Linked DNA regions of Homo sapiens: all the other regions are linked to region 2. Evidence: promoter capture Hi-C in human tissues and cell types (Jung and others, 2019). All regions are on one chromosome and are shown on one strand. Each heading gives the region's core, a stretch centred on a gene start or on the middle of the fragment in contact. The rest is flanking DNA. Distances are from core to core; before and after follow the strand shown.

Evidence for each region. Contacts are between HindIII fragments. The study calls those that stand out against the background at their distance.
Region 1: a contact is called between a fragment that was not itself captured here and the fragment with the promoter of FANCE in region 2, in 1 of the 25 tissues and cell types used here (spleen).
Region 3: a fragment that was not itself captured here is called in contact with the fragment with the promoter of FANCE in region 2 in 1 of the 25 tissues and cell types used here (lymphoblastoid cells).
Region 4: a contact is called between the fragment with the promoter of SCUBE3 here and the fragment with the promoter of FANCE in region 2, in 1 of the 25 tissues and cell types used here (adrenal gland).

Annotation. Positions count from the first base shown.
Region 1 is chr6:35,272,684-35,275,526 of GRCh38, forward strand. The region is part of intron 1 of ZNF76 (zinc finger protein 76); the gene reads left to right. Among named protein-coding and RNA genes, the nearest start is that of ZNF76, 14 kb to the left of the region's middle. The HindIII fragment of the contact is 4,724 bases long and covers 1-2,843 here.
Region 2 is chr6:35,450,744-35,453,928 of GRCh38, forward strand. It overlaps FANCE (FA complementation group E), which reads left to right and starts at 1,595. Exons shown (of 10, transcript NM_021922.3): 1 at 1,595-2,050. The coding sequence starts at 1,803. RefSeq lists a silencer at 1,246-2,145. The HindIII fragment of the contact is 29,524 bases long and covers 1-3,185 here.
Region 3 is chr6:35,322,278-35,325,285 of GRCh38, forward strand. No RefSeq gene overlaps it. Among named protein-coding and RNA genes, the nearest start is that of PPARD, 19 kb to the right of the region's middle. The HindIII fragment of the contact is 4,973 bases long and covers 1-3,008 here.
Region 4 is chr6:35,212,676-35,215,586 of GRCh38, forward strand. It overlaps SCUBE3 (signal peptide, CUB domain and EGF like domain containing 3), which reads left to right and starts at 1,281. Exons shown (of 22, transcript NM_152753.4): 1 at 1,281-1,828. The coding sequence starts at 1,744. LOC112267955 (a long non-coding RNA gene) reads right to left here and starts at 1,005. Exons shown (of 3, transcript XR_002956343.1): 1 at 1-1,005. RefSeq lists a silencer at 1,305-1,414. The HindIII fragment of the contact is 11,734 bases long and covers 1-2,911 here.

The DNA of each region.
Region 1 (2,843 bases), core at 101-2,600, 180 kb before region 2:
GTTGAAGTGCAGTGGCACAATCATGGCTCTCCAAAGCCTCAACTTCCTGGGCTTGAATGTTCCTCCCACTTCAGCCCCCGAGTAGCTGGGACCACAGCCATGTGCCACCATGCCTGGCAATTATTTTTGTAGAGACGGTGTCTGCACCTGACCTCAGCCTCACATTGATTTTTTTAAGACGGTGTCTCGGCTGGGCATGGTGGCTCATGCCTGTAATCCCAGCACTTTGGGAGGCTAAGGTAGGTGGATCACTTGAGGTCAGGCGTTCGAGACCAGCCAGGCCAACATGGCGAAACCCTGTCTGTACTAAAAATACAAAAACATTAGCCGGGCCTGGTGGCGCGCACCTGTAATCCCAGCTACTCTGGAGGCTGGGGCAGGAGAATCGCTTGAACCCAGGAAGTGGAGGTTGCAATGAGCTGAGCTCGCACCACTGCACTCTAGCCTGGGCAACAGAGTGAGACTCTGTCTCAGAAAAAAAACAAAAAACAAAAAACAAAAAAAAAACGAGTCTCACTCTGTTGCCCAGTGAACTCTGGAGTGCAGTGGTGTGATCTCAGCTCACTGCCACCTCCACCTCCCAGGTTCAAGCGATTATCTTGCCTCAGCCTCCTGAGTAGCTGGGATTGCAGGCGTGCACCACCACACCTGGCTAATTTTCGTATTTTTAGTAGAGATGGGGTTTCGCCATGTTGGCCAGGGTGATCTCGAACTCCTGACCTCTAATGATCTGCCTGCCTCAGCCTCCCAGTGTGCTGGGGTTATAGGCGTGAGCCACTGCACCTGGCCAGACATTGATTTTTAAAGCCCAAGTCAGGGCCAGGCACAATGGCTCACACCTATAATCCCAGTACATTGGGAGGCCAACGCAGGCAGATCATGAGGTCAGGAGTTCAAGACCAGCCTGACTAACATGGTGAAACCCCATCTCTACTAAAAATACAAAAATCAGATGGGCATGGTGGTGCATGCCTGTAATCCCAGCTACTCAGGAGGCTGAGGCAGGAGAATTGCTTGAACCCGGGAGACTCCATCTCACAAAAAAAAAAAAAAAAGAAATGGGGGTCTCACTATGTTGCCCAGGCTGGTCTCAAACTCCTGGGCTCAAGGGATCCTCCCACCTCAGCCTCCCAAAGTGCTGGGATTTCTTTTAAATGGCGCTTCTTCTTTTAAAAAGAAGAAAAAAAAAATTGAAGAAAAAAAGCAATATGCTTTATGCAAAGATGTGTTTTAGCTGTTTAAAACTTATGTTAGTGCAAGTTTGTGTTACTAATTTCCTGTTTTCTCTTCAGTGTTTAGAAACCCACAGAACCAGGCCTGTTCACTAGGTTTTTCTGCGTGTAGTGAAGTATTTTTCTATAATAAACATTGAATCATTTTACTGCAACTTTTCCAAATCTGGTTCTGATTTGTTTGCCACTCATCTTCATCAGCCTTCATCCCTCCCAAACTAATGTGTCTTTTTTCTCATGAGAAGTTTTCTATGTTTACAAATGAAGAAGTTTCTAAGTGAAGATTAAGTCATAATTATTTTTGCTAATCAAAATTGAACATTCTTTTCAGGCAAATGTTTTTGTTGTTGTTTTCTTTTTTTGGCTTCTAAATACAGTTGCCCTCTGGGCTGGCTGAGGCAGAGTACAGAAAGCCTTGTTCCAACTGTCCAGAGTTCTGGTTGGCAGAAGACAATAGAATAGCGAACAGGTGCCTGTAGTCAGCACAGCCCAGCTTGTGTGTGGAGCGCAGTAGGTCTCAACCATGATAAAGTGGAAAAACACAAAAACCATGGCTACTCTTTAGTTTCCTATCTTTCACATCCCTTATTTTTCTCCTTTGAGGAGGCAGTTTAAGCACATCTTGATTCATGGAGAGACCTAAAGATCCAAAGTATCTAAAAAGTTGGGAGTAGTGGCACACACCTATAGTCCCAGCCACTCAGGAGGCTAAGGCAAGAGGATCGCTTGAGCCCAGGAGGTTGAGTTTACAGGAGCTATGATCACTGCATGCCAACCTGGGCAACAAAATGAGATCCTGTCTCTAAATAAATAAAAGGTTTTTCTAAATGTTCTCTCTCCTCAATAATTACAATTTATGTTTTAACATTAAGAAACACATCGATATATTGCAAAGGTGAAGGGTTGTTTTCCTGCATCAGGACCAGTAATGGGTTAAGTTTATTTAAAAGTGCAGCAGGCCGGGTGCAGTGGCTCACGCCTGTAATCCCAGCATTTTGGGAGGCCAAGGTGGGCGGATCAAGAGGTCAGGAGTTCGAGATCAGCCTAACCAACATGGTGAAACCCCGTCTCTACTAAAAATACAAAAAAATTAGCCGGGCGTGGTGGTGCATGCCTGTAATCCCAGCTGCTCACGAGGCTGAGGCAGGAGAATTACTTGAACCCAGGAGGCGGAGGTTGCAGTGAGCCGAGATTGTGTCATTGCACTCCAGCGTGGGCGTGAGAGCAAGACTCCATCTCAAAAAAAAAAAGAAAAAAAATTGCAGCAAACAGAACTGGATTTGCTCCTAGTTCTGGGAGAGTCAAGAGTGCTCCCTTCTGTCTTCACTCTTTTCTCACCTTCCGCTCTCCCAGTCTGTCTCTCCCCTATACACAGCTCAGGTCATTGCAGAGCTAGTAAACCTTATATCCTACAAGGAGAAAACAGAGCAGCCACCCTCACTGCCCCTCTGCCCTGTCTCGGAGGGCTGCAGGAGTAATGAGTCTGAACCGGCAAGTGCAGGCAGAACTCACACATAGCCATCCTGAAGCAGTAACAAGCCTTTCTTTGGCTCTGCCCATGTCACTGTTGTTAGTTCAGTGCCAGCATGGGAGGATTCAGAGTAAACCATC
Region 2 (3,185 bases), core at 345-2,844:
CACCAGGGTCCTTGAGCCATGTTTAGAACTTTTCCTCCCTGTTCCCTTTCAGGTGGCCAGAATACAGACCTTGGTGGGTGGGAGCCACAGCCACTCAGAGTAAAGCTGTAGGTGAGGATGCACAGGGCATTGCAGGCTTTTTAGCATTCTTGGCCCTGCCTGCTATTCATCAGGTCCCACTCCTCTAACAGCTTGTCATTCGAAGACCCAAAACATCCCCTGTAAAGTTAGAGCTGCTTACCTGAAACAGAAGGTGTCTGGAAGAAACTTCTTTCTTGCTATTTTGGCATTTGCAAAGCAGCCATTATCTAAGAAATATCACTAGTCTTTCCCGACATCTCCCTTGAAATCATTTTGGCTCAAATGGAGATCAGATCAAGCTCAAGATACTCCCATGGCTTTCCATACTATTCAGAGTGAAAGCCCAACTCCTTTCTGTGACCTCAGGCCTCTTAAGATCTGACCTGGTTCCCACTCTGATCTCAACTCCTATTACTATCCAGCAAGTGCCCTCCGTTCCAGCCATGCTTTTGCCCCAGAGCCCCCCCGCCCTCCACAGGGAGGACTGAAATGGTCTTCTCACAGACTTCTATCTGGCTTGCCAACCTCATCTTCACATTCATCTTGCCTGACCACCCTATTTAAAAGCACTTCGTGCTGTGTGTCGGTGTTATGTTCTTTTTGAACACATCACAAACATTGTTTAATTAGCTTTCCGTCTCTCCCCAGTTGTGTGACAATGAGGGCCAGGATCTTTGTTTTGTTCCCAGTATCCCCAGTCCCTAGGTGCTCAGTAAACATTTCCTGAATGAAGGGCTGTGTGTGGCAGCAGAGCTGGGACAGGAAATACAAGCTAGCCCCCAAAGCAAGGTTTAGGAGGCACTGTGGGGCTCTTCTCGCTTATTTCCTACGCTTTGCAGTGATCCCACCCTTGGCTGGAAGCCAAGTTCTCCAGCGGACTTCCTTAAACTGAACCCTAGGAAGTGGAGCCACACCTGGCCCCCTATAAACGACCCAGAGCAAGGTTACTGCTTGGTCTTTGGGAGGAAGTTCAGAAGAAAGTCTTTGGCCGTATTAATAGTGTTAGGTTTTACTGTGACCATGTCATTCTCAGGGATGTTTGTATATCAAATACTATTTCTGGAGAGGACTGAAACCCAAATGATAGCACTTTTGGCCTGTGGAAGAGATGAAGCTAAGTGGGGTGGTAAATTGTGGTCAAATTCTATGGTGAAGTCCATGACAAGCAACATGCCGTCAGCGTAAATACAGCGCGGGTCCTCTAGCACAACAGAACCCCTGACATCCACTCCATTCCACTACTTTGGGGAGTGATGAAGAAAGGGAGAGGGTTGGGGTCGTCAGCGGCGGATCCACCCCTCCATCAACCCCCGCCCCCGCCCCGCTCCAGGCTCCCTGGCCCGACACCGCCCACAAACTAACCACTTGTTTTGTCCACGCCCCCTCCCATGGGCACGCCCCAGGCCTTGGCCCCGCCCACCTACTCCGGCTGGACTTGTGCCCGGCCCTGCCCCTTGCGACCGGCCCTCGCGCCGGCCTCACGTTCAGGCTCCGCCCCCGGCCGCGCCTCCCTCCTTCCCTTTCCGACAGCGCGGGAACGGCTGCGGCTTCGGGCGGCCGGGTTTCTCCGGTCTCCCAACGCCGAGGAGAGCTTGTAACAGGCGCTGGAGCTGGCCCGCCACCGCCGCGTCAGGGACGGCGCTGGAGTCCTCCGTTCCCCTCAGCCTCTGAGCTGAGGCCCCACACCAGAGTAGGGGGCGGCGCGGCACCCGTGCCCCGGCATGGCGACACCGGACGCGGGGCTCCCTGGGGCTGAGGGCGTGGAGCCGGCGCCCTGGGCGCAGCTGGAGGCCCCCGCCCGCCTCCTGCTGCAGGCGCTGCAGGCGGGGCCTGAGGGGGCGCGGCGCGGCCTGGGGGTGCTCCGGGCGCTGGGCAGCCGCGGCTGGGAGCCCTTCGACTGGGGTCGCTTGCTCGAGGCCCTGTGCCGGGAGGAGCCGGTCGTGCAGGGGCCTGACGGCCGTCTGGAGCTGTAAGTCCTCGCCCGCGGCCCCTTAGCAGGTATGGGAGGCGGGGGGCTGTCGGGGGAACGACACACACAGAGGTGAAATAAGCCCCTTCAGCGACGGCCTGCCGCGCACCCTATGAGCAGGGGCACCCTTCACTGAGCACTTGCTGTGTGCGGGACATCGAGGATCCGGGAACTCGAGGCACACGCCTTCTGTTCGCTGTAAGGTATAGTGATGATAAGTGGAGGCAAATCACTTTTGATCGCGTACTTCCATCTCTAAAAAACTGGACTCGTACGTCCAGTGTAAGTATACTTATGTATAAAGTGTACACATGTGTTAAAATACGTACATTTTAAAGTACAAAAATAGATACTTAAAACGTGATGGTGGAATACGTATCCGCTATCCTGGTGGCTGTATGCTCTGCTTTTCAAAGCATAACGTTCACTTTAAGGCAAGATTGCTTTCTCTAAGAATGGTAACTGTGAATCCATATTTTAGTGTTCTTGATAATTTCTGGCTCTTGGATGACATTGAACTTTTTTTTTAACCTCTCTGTGGCTGACGAAGGATTCCTACTAGGAGCAGAGGTGTCGGCCCTGCCATTTTATTTGGTTGTGTTTCTGTTATTGATATTATCTCCAATTTTTTGGCAGGCATTCTTTTAAGCCACGTGCTTATTTGTGAGGACAACTTTTGCTTAAAAAAAAAAGAGTACAGTATCTACAGATGCACTTAACTAGCAAAGTTAACTAAAACACACAGAAAAATGAGTGGGTGAGGTGCCATGTTCAGCTCCTAGTGGGGCCAGCCTTCCACTCCTCTTGGATACCCCTCCCCCATAATTTATGCTGGAAACCATCCAGATGCTAAATATTTCTAATGCTTAATTTCTTATGTTTTAGATAAATAGGGGAAAATGGGAGTTCCAATATTTTCTTCCTACACTCCACTTTGAATTTCTTTCAGGAGATGGGTCAGGAGAACTTGTCTGAATCCCCAAATTGGAAGCTATAGAAATGTTTGCCCAGCTATCTGGCTTATTCTGGATAGAGTAAGGAGAGGGCAGGGCCTTAACCTGGGGCCCCTGGATAGAAGAGTATTTCAGCACAATTGATTTCCTTTATAATCCTAGATATTTTATCAAATGCATTT
Region 3 (3,008 bases), core at 61-2,560, 130 kb before region 2:
GGTATTTAGGAAGATTCATGTCCTCTCTCTCAGCCCCCTCATCCAAACCCCATCATCAAATCCAATAGACTCTCTCCTTCCTACTCTCCTATCTGTCCCTCCTTTTCCATCCCCATGGCTACTGCCATGGCTGAGGCCTTTGTGTTTTCTACCTGGTTGTTAACCTTTAACTCCTCCTCCGTCTTGCCCATCTCACCAAGTCCAACTGATTGGACTTCCTTGGTTACTCTCAGATCCACACTTTTGAGGCCATGTCTGTCATGGCTACTGCCTTATTCTGGCTCTTGTCACTTCCCAACTAGATAAGAGCAGTAACCAGGTCTCCTTGTCAACCCCTCTCCCCATTGCCACCTGGATAGGATTTCTAAAATGCAGATTTGTCCTTCACTCTTCCTAATTTCCAGTCCCTTGGTGGTATCCTAGAGTTTTGATATTTAAATTCACATTCCCATATGTGGCAGATGAGGCCCATGGCGATCTGTCCCAGGAGGGCCTCCTATGCCTCTGCCTTATAGAGCTACTTGCAGCTCCCTCTAGGCCTCACACTGACTTCCTTTCCCCCATCCTTGTAACAGCCTTCATAACTAAATGCTTGAGCCCCTCAAGGGCAGGGACATATCTTCTTGAACTAAGAGCCACGGTGATTGGCTCTTAGAAGGCATGCAACAAATATTTGTCAAATACATATATGAATGAATAAATTCTGAAGTGAATAATTCAGGTGTCACAAAGCTAAAAAGTTATAGAGCAGCTGAAATTCAAGTTCATTCGTTTTCCAGGTCCCTACAAGAGACAGGGTCTCTACAAAACTCGGCTGGCCTCCAACTCCCGGGCTCAAGCAGTTTTCCCGCCTCAGCTTCCCAAAGTGCTGGGATTATAGGCAGGAGCCAATGCACTCTGCCCTCATTCAACAAATGTTTATTAAGCTCTTATTATATGCCAGCTTCTGGCTATATTGTACAGAACAAAAACAGAGTCCCTGCCTTCCTGGAGTTTATGTGCTATCTGATTTTTTGAAACCAAGTCTCCAGGCTGGAGACTGTGCCTGATCAGTCTCCAGGCTGGAGCACAGTGCCTGATCAGTCTCCAGGCTGGAGCACAGTGCCTGATCAGTCTCCAGGCTGGAGCACAGTGCCTGATCTTGGTTCACTGCAACCTCCACCTCCCAGGTTCAGACGACTCTCCTATCTCAACCTCTGGAGTAGCTGGGATTACAGGCGTGTGCCACCACACCTGGCATTTTTTTGTTGTTTTGTACTTTTAGTAGAGACATGGTTTCACTACGTTGGTCAGGCTAGTCTCGAAATCCTGGCCTCAAGTGATCTGCCCGCCTCAGCCTCCCAAATTGCTGGGATTACAGGTGTGAGCCACTGCACCTGATTTACTTTGCAAATACACTAAACCTGATTGCAAGGAACTTCATTACAGTCTATTTAAAGTGTCGTGAAACAAAGCTGCTAATATAATGAGGCAGATTTCAAGGATGAGCGGTGAAGCTCAAAGTGCTGTAGGAATTCAGAGAAAAGGAAGTTTTAGGTAGGAGCTGGGATTTGGGATGGCCTTTACTTTTTAATAAAGGCAGCTGGGTGCAGTGGCTCACACCTGTAATCCCAGCACTTTGGGAGGCCAAGGTGGGTGGATTGTTTGAGTTCAGGAGTTTGAGACCAGCCTGGGCAACATGGCGAAAACCCATCTCTACAAAAAATACAAAAAAAAGTTAGCCGGGTGTGGTAGCAGACACCTGTAGTCCCAGCTACTTAGGAGGCTCAGGTGGGAGGATCACCTGAGCCCAGGAGGTTGAAGCTGCAGTGAGCTGTGATCGTGCCACTGCACTCCAGACTGGGTGATAGAGTGAGACACTATCTCAAAAAAAAAAAAAAAAAAAAAAAGACAGAAATTGTATGCATCCTATCCTCTGTAACTATTGCTTTTTGTTTTTTTTTTATTTTTTTAATTTAATTTTATTTTAAATTTTAATCTATTTATTTATTTTGAGACTGGGTTATGAGACTGGCTAATTTTTGTATTTTTGTAGAGACAAGGTTTCACCATGTTGCCCAGGCTAATCTCAAACTCCTGGGCTTAAGTGATCCACCCACCTCGGCCTCCCAAAGTGTTGGGATTACAAGCATGAGCCACCGCATCTGGCTGGTAACTATTATGTTTTAAACTAATGATGAAAAATACTATATGTCATCTTAAAAATGTGCAAGGTGGCTGGATGCAGTGGCTCATGCCTGTAATCCCAGCATTTTGGGAGGCCAAGGTGGGAGGATCACTTGAGGCCAGGAGTTCAAAGCCAGCCTGGGCAAAATAGTGAGCCATGTCTCTACAAAAAGTAAAAAAAAATTAGGTGTGGAGACATGTGCCTAGAGTCCCAGCTACTGGGGAGGCCACGGTGGGAGGATCCCTTGAGGCCAGGAGTTGGAGACCAGCCTTGGCAACGTAGTGAGACCCCATCTCTACCAAAAATTTAAAAACAATTTTTTTTAATTACCTAGGTGTGGTGCATGCGAAGGTCAAGGCTGCAATGAGCTATGATCATGCCACTGCACTTCAGCCTAGGCTACAGAGTCAGAATCCATCTTAAAAAAAAAAAAAAGAAAAAAAATGTGCAAGAGGTCCAGGGCCCAGATCAAAATTGCCAATCCAGAAGAAGGTTCCTCTGTCAGGCAAGTTACTATCTATCACTAGTTCTGCTGCCAGTATTAGTCAGGCCTGGTATCTAATCAATGCCAGGCTTTTCTCTGAGAAGGGAATGGGGTATGGCTAGAGCAGTGTAGATTCCCTCATAACCCCTTTCTGCTGTTTTCTTATGATCTAACTGTGGAATTTTTGGGGTCAGTGATTCCAGGTTTTTTTTTGTTGTTGTTGTTTGTTTGTTTTTGAGACAGAGTTTCGCTCTTGTTGCCCAGGCTGGAGTGCAATGGTGCAATCTTGGCTCACTGCAACCTCCGCCTCCTAGGTTCAAGCAATTCTCCTGCCTCAGCCTCCCGAGTAGCTGGGAT
Region 4 (2,911 bases), core at 31-2,530, 240 kb before region 2:
GGCTCTGTGAGGCTAGTCTGGGTCCTAGCAGCATCTTCCCTGTAGAAAACTGGACCTGGCCTGGTCTCATTCTGAACACAGCCTCACACTCCAAGAAAGTCTTCATAGCCTTTCAAGAGGTCTTTCCTCTTTCCCTTACAATGGAAGGAAAGAAGATACAGAGTGGGTGAACAGTCAAGAGGCAGCATCCATGGTTGGAAGACCCTGCTCCTTCTGCGGTTTGCCCCTGTTTTAAAAATATCCTTTCTCTTTCCTCTGCTTCCCCTCAGTTGGAAGGATGAAGGGTTCAGAATGGACCAGTCAGGACCACCTCTTGAAGCGGGGTGCAGGTTTGGAGGAGCCTCTTGTACCTGTCTCTATGTCTCTGTGTTTATACACATAGACATGATTCTGTGGGGTAGCTTTCGCCCCTGTGCTGACCACATGAGAGTGTCTGTATGTGAGTCCATGTCTCTGCGGGTAGGGTGGTTCATTAGGCTTACCTCCAAGGCCTTAACTGCAAGGGAGTCTGCCCTGGAGCTGGCAGTTTTAGCAGGCGGAGGCTACTTTCTTTTTGGTCCTCAAAGTGGACTCGCATCTAGGAATGGGGACTGAGTCTTGAGGTTGGGGGTGTGGTAGGTGTAAAAGTTGAGAGGTTGTTACTCGGCCTGGTGTCGGAGGCGGTGTGTTCCGAGGTCCTATGTCCCCTGTCAGGCTGTGTCGGTGGACACGCCCGAGTGCCCGTGTGTCCGTGTGTCCACGTCTGCCCCAGCCTCCCCAACACCTCGCACCCTCTTTGTCTCGGGTGGAGGTGTGCGTTCAAACCTGGCGCCGCACGGCCGTCCTCGCGAGCGAGCGCGGGGACGCACCCTCGCTCCCCGACTCTTTCCTAGGGGAGCGAGGACGAGTCGGAGCCCGGTGCTGTTTGGTCTGGAGCCGAGCGGAGCTTGCATTGATCCATTGATTGCGCGCGGTCTGCGCCTGACCTCCCTGCTCCCGGGGAAGCCGTCTCCATGGAGACCAGGCCCGCTCCCCCATCGCCGGATTGTAAATTCCTGCAGGCAGCGGCCCGGCAGCCTGGGGAGGGGGCCACCGCGCCCGGGCGCGCAGGGGGAGCGGCCACCGCGCCGAGGCCCCATTTGAAAGAAAAAAGGGCACGAAAAAGGAGGTGGTGGAGAAGGAGGAGGAGGAGGAGGAGGAGGAGGGGGAGGAGGAAGAAAACGAAAAGGAGCGAGGAGAGGAGGAGAAAGAGGAGGAGGAGGAGAAAGGCGAAGAAAAAGAGCCTGAGAGACGGAGAAAGAGCGAGAGAGGAAGAAAGAGAGGCAGAAAGGGCGTGTTTCTGGCGCTGCGTTTCCCCTCCCCTTTCTCAGGTCCTTCGCTCGGGCTCTGCGCGCTCTCCGGCTGCAGCTCTCTCCCGGCGAAGCTGGGAATTGGGTGGGATTACACGGAGCAGCCCCGCCGCCGCCGCTGGCAGAGGCCGGCTTGGAGAGGGCGGGGGTTCCCCTCCGTCAGTCGCCCCTGGCGCCCCTCGCCTCGTCGCACTCTCCGCCTCGCTCTCCCCGACGTCCGGCCAGGAGGAGCCGGTAGCATCGGGAGCCTCGCGCCGAGGGCGCCGCGGTCCGCGCCCCGCGACTGCAGCCCCCGGCCTGGCCCCGGCGGGGCGCCCCCTCCCCTCCCCCTCCTGCGAGCTGGGATCCGGCCGGCTTCCGCCCTCCCCTGGCCGCGAGACCGGCCCCGGCGGCTGGGCCGCCAGTAGCTCCAGCCATGGGCTCGGGGCGCGTACCCGGGCTCTGCCTGCTTGTCCTGCTGGTCCACGCCCGCGCCGCCCAGTACAGCAAAGCCGCGCAAGGTAAGGAAGGAGGGGCGCGCGGCCTGGGGGCTGTCCTGGCTGCTGGGCCTCAGGGCCTAGGAGCGATTCCCGAGGGGCAGGGCAGGTGCTGGGGAGCGTGCTGCTGTCAGAACCCGGCTCTGTGCACCCGGACTCCCCGGCCAGGGGCCCGACCGCTGGGCGCTGCGCCCCGAGCGAAAAGCCGGACAAGCTGGGGGCGGCAGAGAGGAGTGAGAAACTCTTGGGGGCGGTGGGCAGAAGAGACCACGCGCCTCAGAATTCCGCTCGACTTCATCCACTCCCAGCATCTTCGAAAGACTTCTTGTCTTCCAAAATCTGAGAGAGAATTTTCTCTTCTCTCAAACATTGCCAGAAACTTACGCTGTGGCCTGGAGAGACTGAGGGAATAATGAAAACTTTTCAGCCGTGCCGTATATTTCTTTCCCTTACCCCCAACCCGCATGCAAAGTTAGACATTTCTAAGTTGATGCCTTATCAGTGGAAAAATGTTGAAGAAAAATAGGATCTTTTATGGAAAAATCAACTCATCTCTCACCGGATGGTAGGGGGCTGAAGAAGAGAAGAAAATTTCTGTGACTGGCTCCCGACAGGAATGTTGCGTTTCTGCCTCTTTGGGGTGAAATCTCTTTCGTCTTGCATGGCTTTCATTTCTTATCATAATATTTATTTATTAAGGCCTCGGGTTTCCAATTCCATTTAAATCCAGGTCAGAATTGCATTAAAATAACAAAGTAGAATTCCAGGCCGGGGAGCTCTGACAGATCCCTCTAGGAATTAAAGAGAGACAGGGAGGCCTCCCGCCCCCGTCCCTGACCCCCAGCTCATCGCCTGGCAGGTCCCAAGGCTGTGCAGGCAGAGACTAGGCTGATGTACTACAGTTCTCTCGGGACAGTTTCTCCTCCCCCTTGACCTCTTGCTGTACCCCTCCCCCATCGTGTCCTCACCGACAAGAGATTTATATGGACAAAAAGAAAATTCCTCCTGGCAAGGTTTTGCCCAGGAGAGTATGATTCTGCCTATTGTCCCAGGGGCTCCTGAAGCCAGCTGGGTGAGGAGATGGCTGGGCCAGAAGGAAAGTTGAAC